Regions from separate parts of the Homo sapiens genome. Here all the other regions are linked to region 5. The links are contacts of gene promoters, found by promoter capture Hi-C in blood cells and fetal thymus (Javierre and others, 2016). All regions are on one chromosome and are shown on one strand. The core of a region is centred on a gene start or on the middle of the fragment in contact, and the rest is flanking DNA. Distances in the headings are between cores, read along the strand shown.

Evidence for each region. Contacts are between HindIII fragments. The CHiCAGO score rates a contact against its expected background, and 5 or more counts as called.
Region 1: a contact is called between a fragment that was not itself captured here and the fragment with the promoter of BTF3 in region 5, in 2 of 17 cell types (total B cells and fetal thymus). The highest score is 6.5, in total B cells.
Region 2: a fragment that was not itself captured here is called in contact with the fragment with the promoter of BTF3 in region 5 in 3 of 17 cell types (naive CD4 T cells, total CD4 T cells and total B cells); the score reaches 6.7 in naive CD4 T cells.
Region 3: the fragment with the promoter of MCCC2 here is called in contact with the fragment with the promoter of BTF3 in region 5 in 4 of 17 cell types (fetal thymus, total CD4 T cells, naive B cells and 1 more); the score reaches 11.3 in fetal thymus.
Region 4: a fragment that was not itself captured here is called in contact with the fragment with the promoter of BTF3 in region 5 in 3 of 17 cell types (total B cells, fetal thymus and naive CD4 T cells); the score reaches 5.6 in total B cells.

Annotation. Positions count from the first base shown.
Region 1 is chr5:74,772,767-74,775,466 of GRCh38, reverse strand. NSA2 (NSA2 ribosome biogenesis factor) reads right to left here. Exons shown (of 6, transcript NM_014886.6): 5 at 1,407-1,599. Among named protein-coding and RNA genes, the nearest start is that of NSA2, 6.9 kb to the right of the region's middle. The HindIII fragment of the contact is 2,499 bases long and covers 164-2,662 here.
Region 2 is chr5:72,302,584-72,305,283 of GRCh38, reverse strand. All of the region lies in intron 2 of MRPS27 (mitochondrial ribosomal protein S27), which reads left to right. Among named protein-coding and RNA genes, the nearest start is that of MRPS27, 16 kb to the left of the region's middle. The HindIII fragment of the contact is 2,331 bases long and covers 153-2,483 here.
Region 3 is chr5:71,586,083-71,588,782 of GRCh38, reverse strand. It overlaps MCCC2 (methylcrotonyl-CoA carboxylase subunit 2), which reads right to left and starts at 1,443. Exons shown (of 17, transcript NM_022132.5): 1 at 1,229-1,443. The coding sequence starts at 1,357. RefSeq lists an enhancer at 998-1,784. The HindIII fragment of the contact is 6,273 bases long and covers 146-2,700 here.
Region 4 is chr5:74,866,224-74,868,923 of GRCh38, reverse strand. FAM169A-AS1 (FAM169A antisense RNA 1) reads right to left here. Exons shown (of 1, transcript NR_134288.1): 1 at 1,649-2,700. It overlaps FAM169A (family with sequence similarity 169 member A), which reads left to right and starts at 2,537. Exons shown (of 13, transcript NM_001376049.1): 1 at 2,537-2,700. RefSeq lists a silencer at 2,601-2,700. The HindIII fragment of the contact is 251 bases long and covers 1,161-1,411 here.
Region 5 is chr5:73,497,145-73,499,844 of GRCh38, reverse strand. BTF3 (basic transcription factor 3) reads right to left here and starts at 1,403. Exons shown (of 6, transcript NM_001037637.2): 1 at 1,046-1,403; 2 at 643-711. The coding sequence starts at 1,177. It overlaps BTF3-DT (BTF3 divergent transcript), which reads left to right and starts at 1,525. Exons shown (of 1, transcript NR_186388.1): 1 at 1,525-2,292. RefSeq lists a silencer at 919-968 and enhancers at 605-1,415, 1,179-1,478, 1,509-1,568. The HindIII fragment of the contact is 2,385 bases long and covers 1-2,232 here.

The sequences.
Region 1 (2,700 bases), core at 164-2,663, 1.3 Mb before region 5:
TGTTTTGTATTTTTAGTAGAGACGGCGTTTTGTCATGTTGGCCAGGCTGGTCTCCAACTCCAGTCTCAAGTGAACCGCCTGCCTCGGCCTCCCCAAGTGCTGGGATTATAGGTGTCAGCCACTGCGCCCAGATAGCGAGGGGGCTTTTTAAAGCCTGGAAGCTTCTACATGATTTCTGAGACCTGTTAATGGGAATTAACAGAACGAACTAAACTGTGTTAAATCACTTTCAATTATTATTATTACTTTTTGAGACAGAGTCTCGCTCTGTCATCCAGGCTGGAGTGCAATGGCACGATCTCAGCTCACTGCAAGCTCCACCTCCCAGGTTCAAGCGATTCTCCTGCCTCAGCCACCGGAGCAGCTGGGATTACAGGTGTGGGCCACAACACCTGGCTAATTTGTGTATTTTTAGTAGAGATGGGGTTTCACCATGTTGGCCAGGCTGGTCTTGAACTCCTGACTGCAGATGATCTGTCCGCCTCAGCCTCCCAAAGTGCTGGGATTACAGGCTGAGCCACCGCTCCTGGCAGTTTCAATGATCAGTTTACCTACGTGGGACAGATAGTTCTATTTCTTTAAATGTAATAGGTATTTTCTCTTAATGTTAGCATGTAAATATAAGAAGTATTTACATAATATAAAGTTGTGGCAAAAGAAATTTTTTCTTACGGAAGACATCTTTAGTCATTGGCTAATACTTCATGTAAGCTGACCTCACTTTTAAAATATGTTTGATATATGCCTCCCTTCCTCTGCTCATGGTTAATTTATTCTATTTTCTTATAATATTTCTTAGTTATAACTTTGCATCTGCTTCCCTTATAATAATTTTTATTAAAAAGGTTAAAAAAATTTTTTTTGAGATGGAGATTTGCTCTGTCTCCCAGTCTGGAGTGCAGTGGCACAATCTCAGCTCACTGCAAGCTCCGCCTCCTGAGTTCAAGTGATTCTCCTGCCTCAGCCTCCCAAGTGGCTGGGATTAGAGGTGCTCGCCACCACACCCGGCTGATTTTTTTGTATTTTTAGTAGAGGTGGGGTTTTGCCATGTTGGCCAGGCTGGTCTCAAACTCCTGACTTCAGGTGATCCACCCGCCTCAGCCTCCCAAAGTGCTGGGATTTACATGCGTGAGCTGCTGTGCCTGGCTAAAAAGGATAAAAATAAATCTAGCAGAATGTATTACACCTTATGTAACTAAAACCAGTAAGCTAAATTTTAAAACAATTGTATTTATAACAACTTTTTCTATAAAGTATTTTTTACTAAATATTTACATCTGATTTACAGTGTTTTAGCTCTACTGCATTAAAAAAATTTGCTGTATATTTTATTAATACATCAACTTGAATAGTATTTCTATTAGTACTGCAGAACACAGCAGCCCTGTATTCAAAAATTCACTTACCCCAAATAACTTTGCCTCCTTGTGTCACAAGGCCCAATTCGCTCACATTTACTTCAATGACAGTACCTTTGGTAATAACACCCAAAGTTGTATACAGTGGGGATGAGGGATTCTTCTTTACACCAAGTATTGGTAGGCAAAAGGTGGCTTTCAGTTCAGGATGTGTTACATGGGCTTTCTTGAAACGCAAGCCCTAGTAAGTCAAACACAACATAAGAATGTTTACGTCCAAAATGTTAACAGTGATGAGTAGTGGTCGTTTTCGCTTATCTTTTTCAACCATCTCCAAAAAACTATGGTTGAATAATGTCATCTTAAAGAAGCTAACAAAATATGTTTTACAGAGTAAAAAGCTGATGGTTACAGTATAAATATGTGGGGAAAACACCCACACAAATACTTAAGAATTTCTTTTTCTTTTGAGACAGGGTCTTGCCCAGTTGCCCACGCCAGAGTGCAGTGGCGTGATCTTGGCTCACTGCAGCTTGGACTTCTTGGGCTCAAGACATCCTCCCACCTCAGGCTCCTGAGTAGCTGGGACTACAGGCACGCACCACCATGCCTAGCTTATTTTTTTTTTTTTTTTTTTTGGTAGAGATGGGGTTTCGCCATGTTGCCTGCTGGTCTTGGACTCCTGGGCTCTCAACGTATCCACCCACCTCAGCCTCCCAAAGTGCTGGGATTACAGGCCACCACAGCTAGCCTCTGAAAAGTTTTTTTTTTTTTCACCCTGTAATAGCTACCTAGCAACATACCCAGATTTTTACTGTCTAGTCATCTACACTTAGACTTACTAAGGACTTTATATATACCAGGCCACTATGCTAGCTCACAACTGGCTCACTTAAACACAATAACCTCACAACAAACACATCCCCTCTCCTCTGTTTTCAAATGATGTAACAAGGATCAGCAGGTTAAATGACTTGTTTCCAGATTAAATGGTGAGTGGTAAACAGACTCAAACCTTAATATCCTGATTCCAAGTCTTTATATAACTCGGCTACCTTCCATGATGAAAAAAGGAGTGGACTGTCAGCTTTCTTTAGGTTGATGGCAATATGAGACTGGAGGAGACCCAGAGGAGTCTTTGTTACAGAAACTGGTTATGGAGTCACCCAGTCACCTAATAAGGTCTTTTAGGGTGTAGTACTTTAAACGTCACAACATTTTGCAGTCTTCATTTTTGTGTGCATGGGGATGGGGGGAAAAAATCACTAAATCAGTTTCTTAGTAACAGACTCATTAATCAAGCTTGTAAGAAACTGACACCATTCAGGATGCCATCTGATTA
Region 2 (2,700 bases), core at 69-2,568, 1.2 Mb after region 5:
TGGCATCTATTCATTTTCCAGTTTCCATATTTGCCAAGTTCTAGAGATGGGTCTGACTTGTGCACATCACCGTTCTTTAGTCTCATTAATATATATGTACACAAAGCTTGATTTCATGTTTTTCCTTTATTGGATTTATTTATGTTAAAGCTTCTGGTGACAGACAAATAGAAGGAAGTCTAAAAATCTATGTCCAAATTGGTTGCTAGGCTAGTTTTCCATACTTCCTTCTGTATATTCAATGCATGATATATGTCATGTGTCCTCGTTTTTCTTTTAAAATGTGGGAAACAAAAACAGTTTCAGCCTGTATTTTTCAAGATCAGTTCTTCTAGGAAGGACAATAATAATCTGTACCTGTTTCTTTATTATATAAATTAGGTAAGGTATGCAGATGACCATAAGCCCAGAAAGAGTTTAGTGTTGCCTGAAAGGTTAACAGTAATGTGCAGTTATGTAGAAAAGAAAAACTGAAACCATTTCTCACCTGAAGCTAGAAGGATTCAATAAAGGATTCATATTTTTCTTCAGTGACCTTCATTATCACAACTTTGCCCCAGAGACCACACTCTTTTTTAAGAGGCTTGTTTTTCAACACATCTGTACTACAGATTTTGTGGTTATGTACTGTGAAGCTGTGTTACTTTGGTGTGCACCAGGTTAAAATTATCTTGGCAAAATGAATTTTTGGTCATTATGTAGTGACCCACATAATCTATAAAACTGCTTTTTGCCTGTAATCTATTGTGTCTGATATTAATACAACTGTACCAGCTTTATTTTGGCTTCCTAGTGTGTTTTTAATAATTTTCAACTCTTCTGTGTTTATATGATTTATATAGCTAGCTTTTATATTTTTAACCAATCTGACAATCATTATCTTTTAACTAGAAAATTTCGTCTATTTACATTATCATTTCATGATTACCAATATAATTGGATTTATTTCTGTCACATTTTGTGATTGGTTTCATCTTTCTTTTTTTTCTTTATTTTTTATTTTTGGATTGATTTTTACTTTTGGATTGTTTTTGTTTTTTACGTTTTTTTCCCCTCCACTGGTCTGGAGATTATATCCTCTACTTTTTTAGAGATTGTTGCCCTTTAACTTCTAAAATGCATATCTAGCTTAAATTGTAATGCTCATCACACTCTACTATCCTTTAGGACACCTTAGGTCCACACACACACATCTAACCATATGCTCTTGTCTAATAATAAAGTTTTATCCTTTAAAACACATATAACATTATTTTAAACAGTCAGTTCCCCCCCAATTTAACCAATTTTATTGAGTTCTAAAAATTTCCTTTAGTATTTGTTGCTAATACATTTTCTGTTTTTGTTTGTCCAAAAATGTCTTCATTTCGCCCTTATCTTTTTTTTTTTTTTTTTTTTTTTGAGATGAGGTCTTGCTGTGTTGCCCACACTGGCCTCCAACTCCTGGGCTTAAGTGATCCTCCCACCTCAGCCTCCTGAGTAGCTGGGTCTACAAGCACATGCCAGCATACCCATATTTTGCCCTTATTTTTTAAAGATAATCTTGCTAGATATGCAATTTTAGGTTGATAGTTTATACTTGCAACATTTTGAACATTTTATTCTATTTTCTGGATTTTATCATTCCTATTGAGAAAACACCTGTTAGTATAGTTGTTTCTTTCTTTGTAATTTCTCTTTTCTTTCTGGCCACTTTTGAGATCCTCTCATTCATCGTTTTTGAAATAATAATTTTACTTTTTTGACTTGAGATTGTATACATATCCTGAATCTAGAAACCTATATTTTTTATCAATTCTAAAAAATTCTCATCATTGTCTCATCATACATTCTTATTCATATTTCTATATCTTTGCTCTTTTACAGTTCTCATTTTTATCTTTGCAGCATTCTGTGTAATTATCTGCCTTTCAGTTCACTCTCACTTCACCTGTGTCTAACCTGCTTTTTAACTTATTCATTGTTTACTTTTTACAGCTTTGATGAGGTATTCTTCACATAAAATAAACTATGTATATTTAAATGTACAATTTGATCAGTTTTGACCAATGTACAGGTGTATATGTCCATAAAGTCATCTCCATGATCAAGATAATGAGCATATGTGTCACCTGCCAAAGTTTTCTCCTATTCTTTAACCCTTTTCTCCTTCCGCTTCTGGCCCTATACCCCAAATTCCCAGGCAACCATGGATATGCTTTTTTGTTTCTATAGAATAGTTCACAATTTTTAGAATTTTATATAGTGAAGTCAACTCTTCAAACAAAATTCTCAGCTTGGTATATTTTGGATCACAAAAGAAGAGTGGATTAAATCCCCAAAGAGGCATGAGGGCTGACTTGTAGTTTATAATCTTCAGGGGACAAGTGTCCCGGTTGTTTACTTTTTAGGGTGCATTATTGTAGTGATAAGTTTTACCTTTTCACTTCAGGTGTAGTTCCCTTAGGTGGTCCTGGCTTTACCTGAGGATCTCTGAACAAGCTTCTCATCTTACAAGTATTGGTTTTATCCTCTGTCCCCATAAGTCACTGAAACTAAAGCTCTCCATCACTGTAGATCATCACATGCTCTCAAAAGGACTGCTCCCCTCAAAGGGACTGCTCCTCTAAACACTCCAAGTTCATGTTTCCATCTTGCCTTTGGCCTCTGACAGTTACATCTACCTTCTTGAAAGCTCAGTCATATATTTGGGGGAAAATT
Region 3 (2,700 bases), core at 194-2,693, 1.9 Mb after region 5:
AACTCAGTACCTATGTTCTTGTAACTCTCTTGGTTTATACAGTCTTACCTTCCATCCTGCACCCTGAACTTGGCCAGCTCTTACCCAAGATTCATCTCACCCATTACTTCCTATCGGTAGCTTTCTGTAACCACCTTCTCAAGCTTTAGACAACCCTTCTTACACTGTACCACAGTTACCTGCTTTCTTGTCCATCTTCCCTACAAAATTATTAGTTCCATTCCTACGCATCCATGCCAAATATCTAAAATAGTGCCTAGACCACAATAACCACTTAATAATTCTGAATTAAACATTCTGGACTGACAAACAATTGTGTGTTGTTTGCACTATTTAGATGTTATCTGTATAGGCTTAGAAATCGTGGGAACACAGTGAAATTTTCCAGCTCTGATATTTCGCAAGTTTTGAGTTTTTTGGCCTTATGATGCCTCCTAATTCCAAGAAAAGCCACTCAAAGATACTGTGGGATATTTTCTATTAACATAACCAACTTTTTTTTTTTTTTTTTTTTGAGACAGAGTTCGCTCTTGTTGCCAAGGCTGGAGTGCAATGGCACGATCTCAGCTCACTGCAACCTCCGCCTCCCAAGTTCAAGCGATTCCCCTGCCTCAGCCTCCCAGGTAGCTGGGATTACAGGCGCGCGCCACCATGCCCGGCTAATTTTTGTATTCTTAGTAGAGATGGGGTTTCACCACGTTGGCCAGGCTGTTCTCGAACTCCTGATCTCAGGTAATCCACCCGCCAGGGCCTCCCAAAGCGCTGGGATTACAGGCGTGAGCCACTGGGCTCGGCCATCATAATCAACTTTTAAACTCAAATTTCCTAAGCACAGCGCCCCTCGTTGGGCTGCTCTAGGCCAGTGGTTCCCAAAGCTGGCTGCCAAAAGTCCCCTAATGAGTTCACTAACAATATAAACACAGCGACTCCACCTGAGACCCACAAGGTCCAGAGTAGGGCTCAGGCAGCTATTCAGCTAGCTCCCCAGGTGGCAATTCTAAACCAGGCTTTAAGAACCACTGATTTCAAAGACACAAAGTACAGTGCCAGCTCTAAAAGTGAACTAAACTTTCTTGTATCTGTTAGGCTTTTCTTCTTCAAACTTCACGTGCGTCACAGAATCAACTGGGGCTCCGGACAAGAGAGCAGCAGTTGTTGAAGCGTGCCCCTCCTCCACTTGCTTCCTAGCCTGGCACCGGCGGCCAGGCCACCGGGGCGCTCAGCCTACCTGGTAGAGGGCAGAGCCCAAGTCCGGCTGGGTGCCCAGCGAGGCCACCGAGTCCCCGTGATAGGCGCGCGGCCCGGCGGGAGAGGCGCGGGCACACGGCCGCAGGGCTAACCTCAGGACGGCCCACATGGCGGCGGGCACCGAGCGAGAGAGCGGCCCACGCTGGCCTGGAGCCGGTGCTTTCCCCTGCCGCTTCCCTGGCTGGGGCGGAAGCTGAGCTCAGGTCCTTGCAGCCCCAGAGAAGGTTTCTCTGATTCTCAGGCCTGTCCACACACGTGCCTAAGCGCGCCGCCCGCGATTGGTCAAGCCGCGCCACGCCCCCTGACCCAGCCAATAAGGGACAGAGCCTCAGCCCCGCGAGGTCGCGTCTAGTCCCGAGCGCAGGAGAGCAGGTCTCCCCGGCGGATCGACCCTCACGAAGCGGTGCGGCAGTGAGAGAGCTGCGGTTGGGCTTGGATTGGTGTTGTGTTGACACAGCGATAGATAATATCACGATAGTGACTGTACCTAAGGCAGGAGAATAAGTCTGGAAGCAGGGAACCTAAGGCTGTCTCACGCTGACTTCCTAGAGCTAAACTGAAAGGAAAACCCTAACTTTCCATGCCTAAGTAACAAAAGGACCAAAGGCTACTCCCTTTGCAAACCCCCCCACCTTTTCCGCAGGGCAGATAGGAAATTGGCTGTCCCCGACAAATCAGACTTACTGCTGGTGGAGGCTTGCTTTGCCAAGTTTGAACCTTAACTCCAGCCTCTGAATGGTTGCTGTCCACAACCAATCAGACTGATTGGGGGTCCAGTCTTCGTTTGCATAGAAGTATAACTTTGTAATTTCACCCTAGCCTCTGACTGCTTGCTTCTTGCAACCAATCGGGTTTGAGGTGAGCATAAAATGGCCAATAGGAAACTTCTAGTGGGTATTTGGACCCAAGAAGATTCTATATCCGGGCCCTTGAGCTCTGCTCGGTCCGCTCCCACATTGTGGAGTGCACTTTCGTTTTCGGTAAATCCCTGCTTTCGTTCTTTCGTTGCCTTGTTCTTTCTTTGCTTTGCTGGGCGTTTTGTCCAATTCTTTGTTCACAATGCCAAGAACCTGGACAACTTGCAGTCACAACCCCCAGTGACACACCAACAACATGAGTGAATCGCATCTAACACGTGCTTGCGAACAGCACAACAAGCCTGTTGTCCTTTCACTGGAGACCTTAAACATTCTTCTGATTATTTTCGCTATGTAGTTATTTTTATTTTTTACTTTATTTCATTTTTTGAGACAGGGCCTCACTCTGTCGCCCAGGCTGCAATGCAGTGGCACGATCACAGCTCGCTGAATCCTTGACCTCCCACCTCAGCCTTTCCAGTAGCTGAGACTACAGGTTTGTGCCACCAAGCCCGGCTAATTTTTTATTTTTGTAGGGGTTTCACCATGTTGGCTATGCTGGTCTTGAACTCCTGGACTCAAGCGATCTGCCCGC
Region 4 (2,700 bases), core at 37-2,536, 1.4 Mb before region 5:
TGCCTCAAGACTCCTCTTAGGTAAACTGGGGGTAACAGTGTATACCTGCAAGGATGGTAAGAGGATTAAGTGAATTAATTTCCATAAAGAAGTCTGTAGAGTGCCTGGCAATTTGTTAGCTGTCAAAAACATCAGTTATGATTTTAGCTATTAAGAATTCCTCTTCCCCAGTGCAACTAAAGAGCTCTTTTCTGGGTCATGTGTATTAGTAACCTCCAAAATCCAGGGTTGTGGCAAGCTTCTTTTACTTAAGATGGTTCCACTCCTCTTTAAACATAGAGGAAAAATACAATCAGAACGAACTCTTAACATGTTTCCTTTGCTAATAACAAAGTAATAATTAAAGCAAGCATTGCAAAAACAAAAACCAAAGCAATAATCCTTTTACTCTAAAAACGGTTCAGAAAAAAGCCTCAAAGCATATTTCAAAATATTGTGGTAACAATTTTCAGCATATACTAATCTGACAAAGGCTCATGTTTTTAGTTGTTGTTCTTTGCCCACTAAGATAAGCAAAATTTATCTCAGCCAAAGAGGGAAGTCAATGGTGATTTAAAAAGAAAAAACCAAAAACTCTCAAAAATAGTGTCATTTGCAAGTAGGGAAAAGAGAATCAGGCCTGGCGCAGTGGCTCACGCCTGTAATCCCAGCACTTTGGGAGGCCGAGGCGGGCGGATCGCTTGAGCTCAGAAGTTCAGGACCAGCCTGGGCAGCATGGCGAAACTCCGTCTCTACAAAAATTAGCGAGGTGCGTTGGTGTGCACCTCTGTCCCAGCTCTTCCGGAGGCTGACGCCGGAGAATCGCTTGAGCTTGGGAGGCAGAGGTTGCAGTGAGTCGAGATCGCGCCATTGCATTCCAGCCTGCCTAGGCTGTGGGAGTGAAACCCTGTCTCAAAAAAAAAAAAAAAAAAAAAAAAAAAAATTGGACCTTTTCTTTTATAGGTCTGGGTGAATGTAGTTCTGTCTCCTACCAGAATAGCCAGACATCTGGGAGCCAGGCCTCCCTGACCCAGGCACAAATACCCGCATACTTCTAAAACAATAGCTAAGAGTCAATCACACCCAGGCATTTCAAATATTATCAACAAGTTGTATTGGTTAGCTTTACACTAAGGCCTGAGGCTTCAACATCTGTAGGGCATAGTCTGGTAGCCAAAGCTTCCCCAAATGGCAATTGTTTGGGATTACCCTGGGGACTCCTACTTACACATAGCTCTAGAAATGTAAATACAAGTCATATAATTTCATTCATCACTGGCTATGGGTAGAACCCAACTACCCAAAATTCCTGCTCTATTAAATCTAATTCATTAAGTTTCATTAAAATGGTAAATGATGTGTAATAGTAAAGATTTTGGCTAATTAAATATTATACAAATGAAACAATAGATTCTTATATGGCAGAAAAGCTTTTTTTAAAAATCAGGGTCAAATATATCTATATCAACAAGCATTCTTTGAAGTATTTTTTGATCTTGCTAATTTTGCTAATCATTAGTAAATTCGTGAAAGTTGGTATTGTGATTGCTAAATATTTCCCAGGAATGAAAGAAGCAATTTTCAACTTTTCTGGATGAGCTGAACATAATACTACGGTTCTTGGATGATGAGTAAAAGAAAGTCTTGACATTAATACTTAGATACAATATTGTTTCTCAATACAGTTATTAAATATATTTAGACTACAATACGCATTACCTTAAAGACAATTTATCATGTTTTAAATGCTGGAGGGCTAATTTTCAGTAGGAGTGTGTAATTAGCAAAGGCGCCAGAGGCCATAAGACGGTAGAATAGAGCTGGGAGAGGCACGGGAGGAAAGCCGGATGGAACCCTGTTGTCTTTCTGGGTCAGGGTTATTCTGTACCGGTTAAACGGTGAAAGAGAAAAGGTCAGCGCAGGAATGTGGTATTTCCCTGACATCTCCAGATGAAAGTCCGGGCTCTAGGACTTCTGTAGACTGTGAAAGCAGCCCACGATTCTAACTTGCATGCACCTAAGTGGCAGTAGGTTTAGGATGAAAGTGGTGGGGCGGAGGCCGGCGGTCCTCGCCCGTGCCCTCTGCACCCCTGTCCCGAGGCCGGGATGGCCGCGCCCACTCTGGGTAAATTTCAGGAGGGCCTACGCGGGGCTGGAGAACTCCACCGGGCTATGCGAACAGAATCCTGCGAAGGTCGGCATTAAAGGAATACGCAAAATCAGCGTTGCAGCCCCCGCGGCTTAACCGCATCTATTTTTATATCTAAGCCAAGGTCACTCTTTAATACCAGGCCATTGCCCTGAGCTGGGCGTCGCGCTGCCGGGTGACGGCGGCCGGGGCGGAGAGAGGGGGCGCGGGTGGCGAGGCGGGGGCCGCGTGACGCCCCCGGGCTGGCCAAGCCCGCACCTGCCGGGCCGGCGCCTGAAAGCCGGGGCTGGAGGGAGGCAGGGCGGCGTCCCAGGCTCCGAGGAGGGGCCGCTCCGCGCTGGCGGGCGGGGGGATTCGCGGTGGGCGCGGGCGCGGAGCGGAAGCGAAGGCTGGAGGCGCTGCGGCGCTAGTGCGTCACGTCGTCGGAGGGCACGGTGGGCCGCGGCCGACCCGCGACGAGGAGCCGGGCGTCCGGGGCGAGCGGGAGGCAGCCGCACTCGCCCTGGCAGCCGCGAGCTGTGCGGCCTGGGACCGGCCGGAGGTCGCCAGCGAGCAGCCGCCGGCTCCATTCA
Region 5 (2,700 bases), core at 154-2,653:
AAAGAATCCCCTTGATGTGAATCAGTATCCACCAGGAAAAAAACAATTAATCAAAAACTGATCATTTAAAAATCAGTCACTTTAATTCCCTCATTTTTACAGTAATACAAAGTCAGAACAGGAAAGATACCTACTTGGGTTATATTTTCAAATCTAATAGTCACTGCTCTTAAACTCCAAAATGTACCCGTATCTTCAAATACCCTTGAAATATGCAACTACCCTAAAGAATATTTAGTTCAGAAAGCAGTACAGAAAGGTCTCAATTTACAAGAGAGACAAACAAGCACTGACTTTAGAAAACTCAGGCCAAAACAAGTCAAGGGTATGATGTGCACAACGATCTAACTGAAATGACACATTTTCCTTACTAATTAAATTAGGAAACACTTTTGTGTTCTACTTACACTCTGTAACACTGAAAACACAAACATGTTTACACAAAGGCGATGTTTTTAGCTCGTCTCACTGATGTGTCTCCAACCCTCGTCTCCCCCGCTCCTCGAGATTTGCTAGCTCCGTGAATTTCCCTCGATAGGCAAAGTTTGTCACCGATAATATAAGAAGCGCAAAAGGAATATGTTTTTTAAAATACCTAAACCTTAAAAAAAAAACCCACAAACCCGAACTATTAAAACTTACTTTCCCACCAATGCGCACTTGTGCCTGCAGTTTGGCGAGTTTTTCCTGGTTCATGATTGTTTCTTTCATCTAGAAAAAGAGGAAATCCTCAGCAAGGATAGGTTTAGCTCACTCTAGCATTCCATGCTCGTTATTTCCCAAGATACCAGCAGGAAAATAAACGTCCTACACAGGCCGAAACCTGGATCCCAAATCCACCCCGCAAAGCTCCAAATTTGGGTTTCCAGGGAGCCCAAAGAGCACCCGCCTCCCCACCACTCCCCCACAGCTCCCCGCTCTTGGCAGGCCCGGATGAAAGGCTCTACCCCACGCCTGGCCAGCACCCCCCACCCCTGGCCCTGGCCTGGCCTCGGCCTAGCCAGGGCCTGCCCGGCCCGGCCACTCTCCGCAAGCCTCGCGGTACCTGAGGCTCCTGTCCTCGGGTTCCGCCGCGAGGTGGAGGTTGAGACAGCGTCGCCTCGCCCCCAGGGCAGCCGCCCCTGGCTCGACCTCGCCCCCGAGAGTCAGCCTGAGCGGGTGCGCCTGTCCGTCGCATCGCCTTCCTCTCCTCCTCTGCCCTGTCCCTCCCTGTCTCGCTCCTTCAGGGAACTTCCCGCCCCCGCTCCCGTCCTCCTACCACGCCGCCGTCCAGAGCCTTTTTGTACCTTGTCGGAGCGAATAAGGGGCCGCGCGGGGGACTAGGGTTGGTGCTCAAGGGGTCTCGGGTGGACCACCTGAGATTAGGCGCACACACGCGGGGACGCAAGATGGCAGCTAAAGGGAGGCCGGAAGTGACACAAGGCCACTTCCTTCAAGAGTCAGGAAACTGACTTCGCCGCGAACTCGGTTCCTCCCTGCGCACGCGCGACAGCGTTTGTGATGGTCCAGCGAGTCCCTATTCTCCTCCTCCTGCTCCAGCGGCTGCCGGCTGTAGGCCCTACGAGAGACTGCTGGCTTGGGGCGCAGCCCGTACCTCTGGGAGAGGCCACAAAGGGGTCGGAGAGCGCGGTCCTGTGCACAGTTAGGGTTAAGTCCGCTCAGTCTCCATTGGGCCCTGATCCTGAAGTTCTGTGCCCTCCGAAGAAAGGGCCTATTCACGTTTCCTGGAGACGCCGGAGGTGCCCAGCTTGTGCTCACCACTCAAGCAGCTCTCCCCTTGCTGGAGGTGTGGGTTGGAGAATTGCAGAATTTCCCTCTCGGCCCGAATGAGCCATTACCAAAGCATTTTGTCAAAAATAGTGAAGTTAGTTTGGCCTTCCAAGGTTAGGTGGTGTGGTAGATTGCGGGACCGAGGTTCAGAATTTCTGGGGGCTGTATCCCCGAGCCCCACTCCTCAGAATGCAACTCTGTACGACGAAGGAACTGGGTAATCCGCATTTCAGCCAATTTAGCAGATGACTAACCACCTTAAAACGGTCCACACAATTATCTTGTTTATCAGGCAAAAAAATTGACTCCTAGGTACCGAATTGGCATGGATTTGACAATTAGCGATTCACGGTTAAGCAGACTTTATCTATCTTAATCCAATCAAAGGAGAATTTCTGCCTGCTGTGTTTGGAGAGACAACGCGTGGATGTGAGTTAAACTTTGTTAAACCCAGGACAAGCTTTAAGATAAAACGACTGATATTTAAAATGGCAATTTAAATAAAAATGTTCTCTGATCAGCCTTTTTGTGGTCTTAACCATGAAATGTCTTTGCATATTCAAAAGTGAGTCCGAAATCTTAGAATGCAATGTGTGTAGCAAGAAAACTTGTTCAAGTGCAGACCCCTCTCCAGTTAAGATCAATGTTTAAACTTTTTGAATACTTTTTACATATAAGTTTGTTGCAACTGATGTCTCAAGAACATAACTGGTGAGGACAGCTGTATTGCCTTTTAGAATAATTGTTACAGTTATATTTACAAAAAACAATGTTGCTTCAGTTAAATATGAGTGAAGTTTTAGTACAGGTAAGGGTGTTTGTAGTTAGGCTTATGTGGGTTACCTTCCTAATGACAAAGGCCAAAATGGCAGTACCAACATTATGCTGTGCTCTGGAGATATTACAAAATATATAGAAAGACTCCCCCTT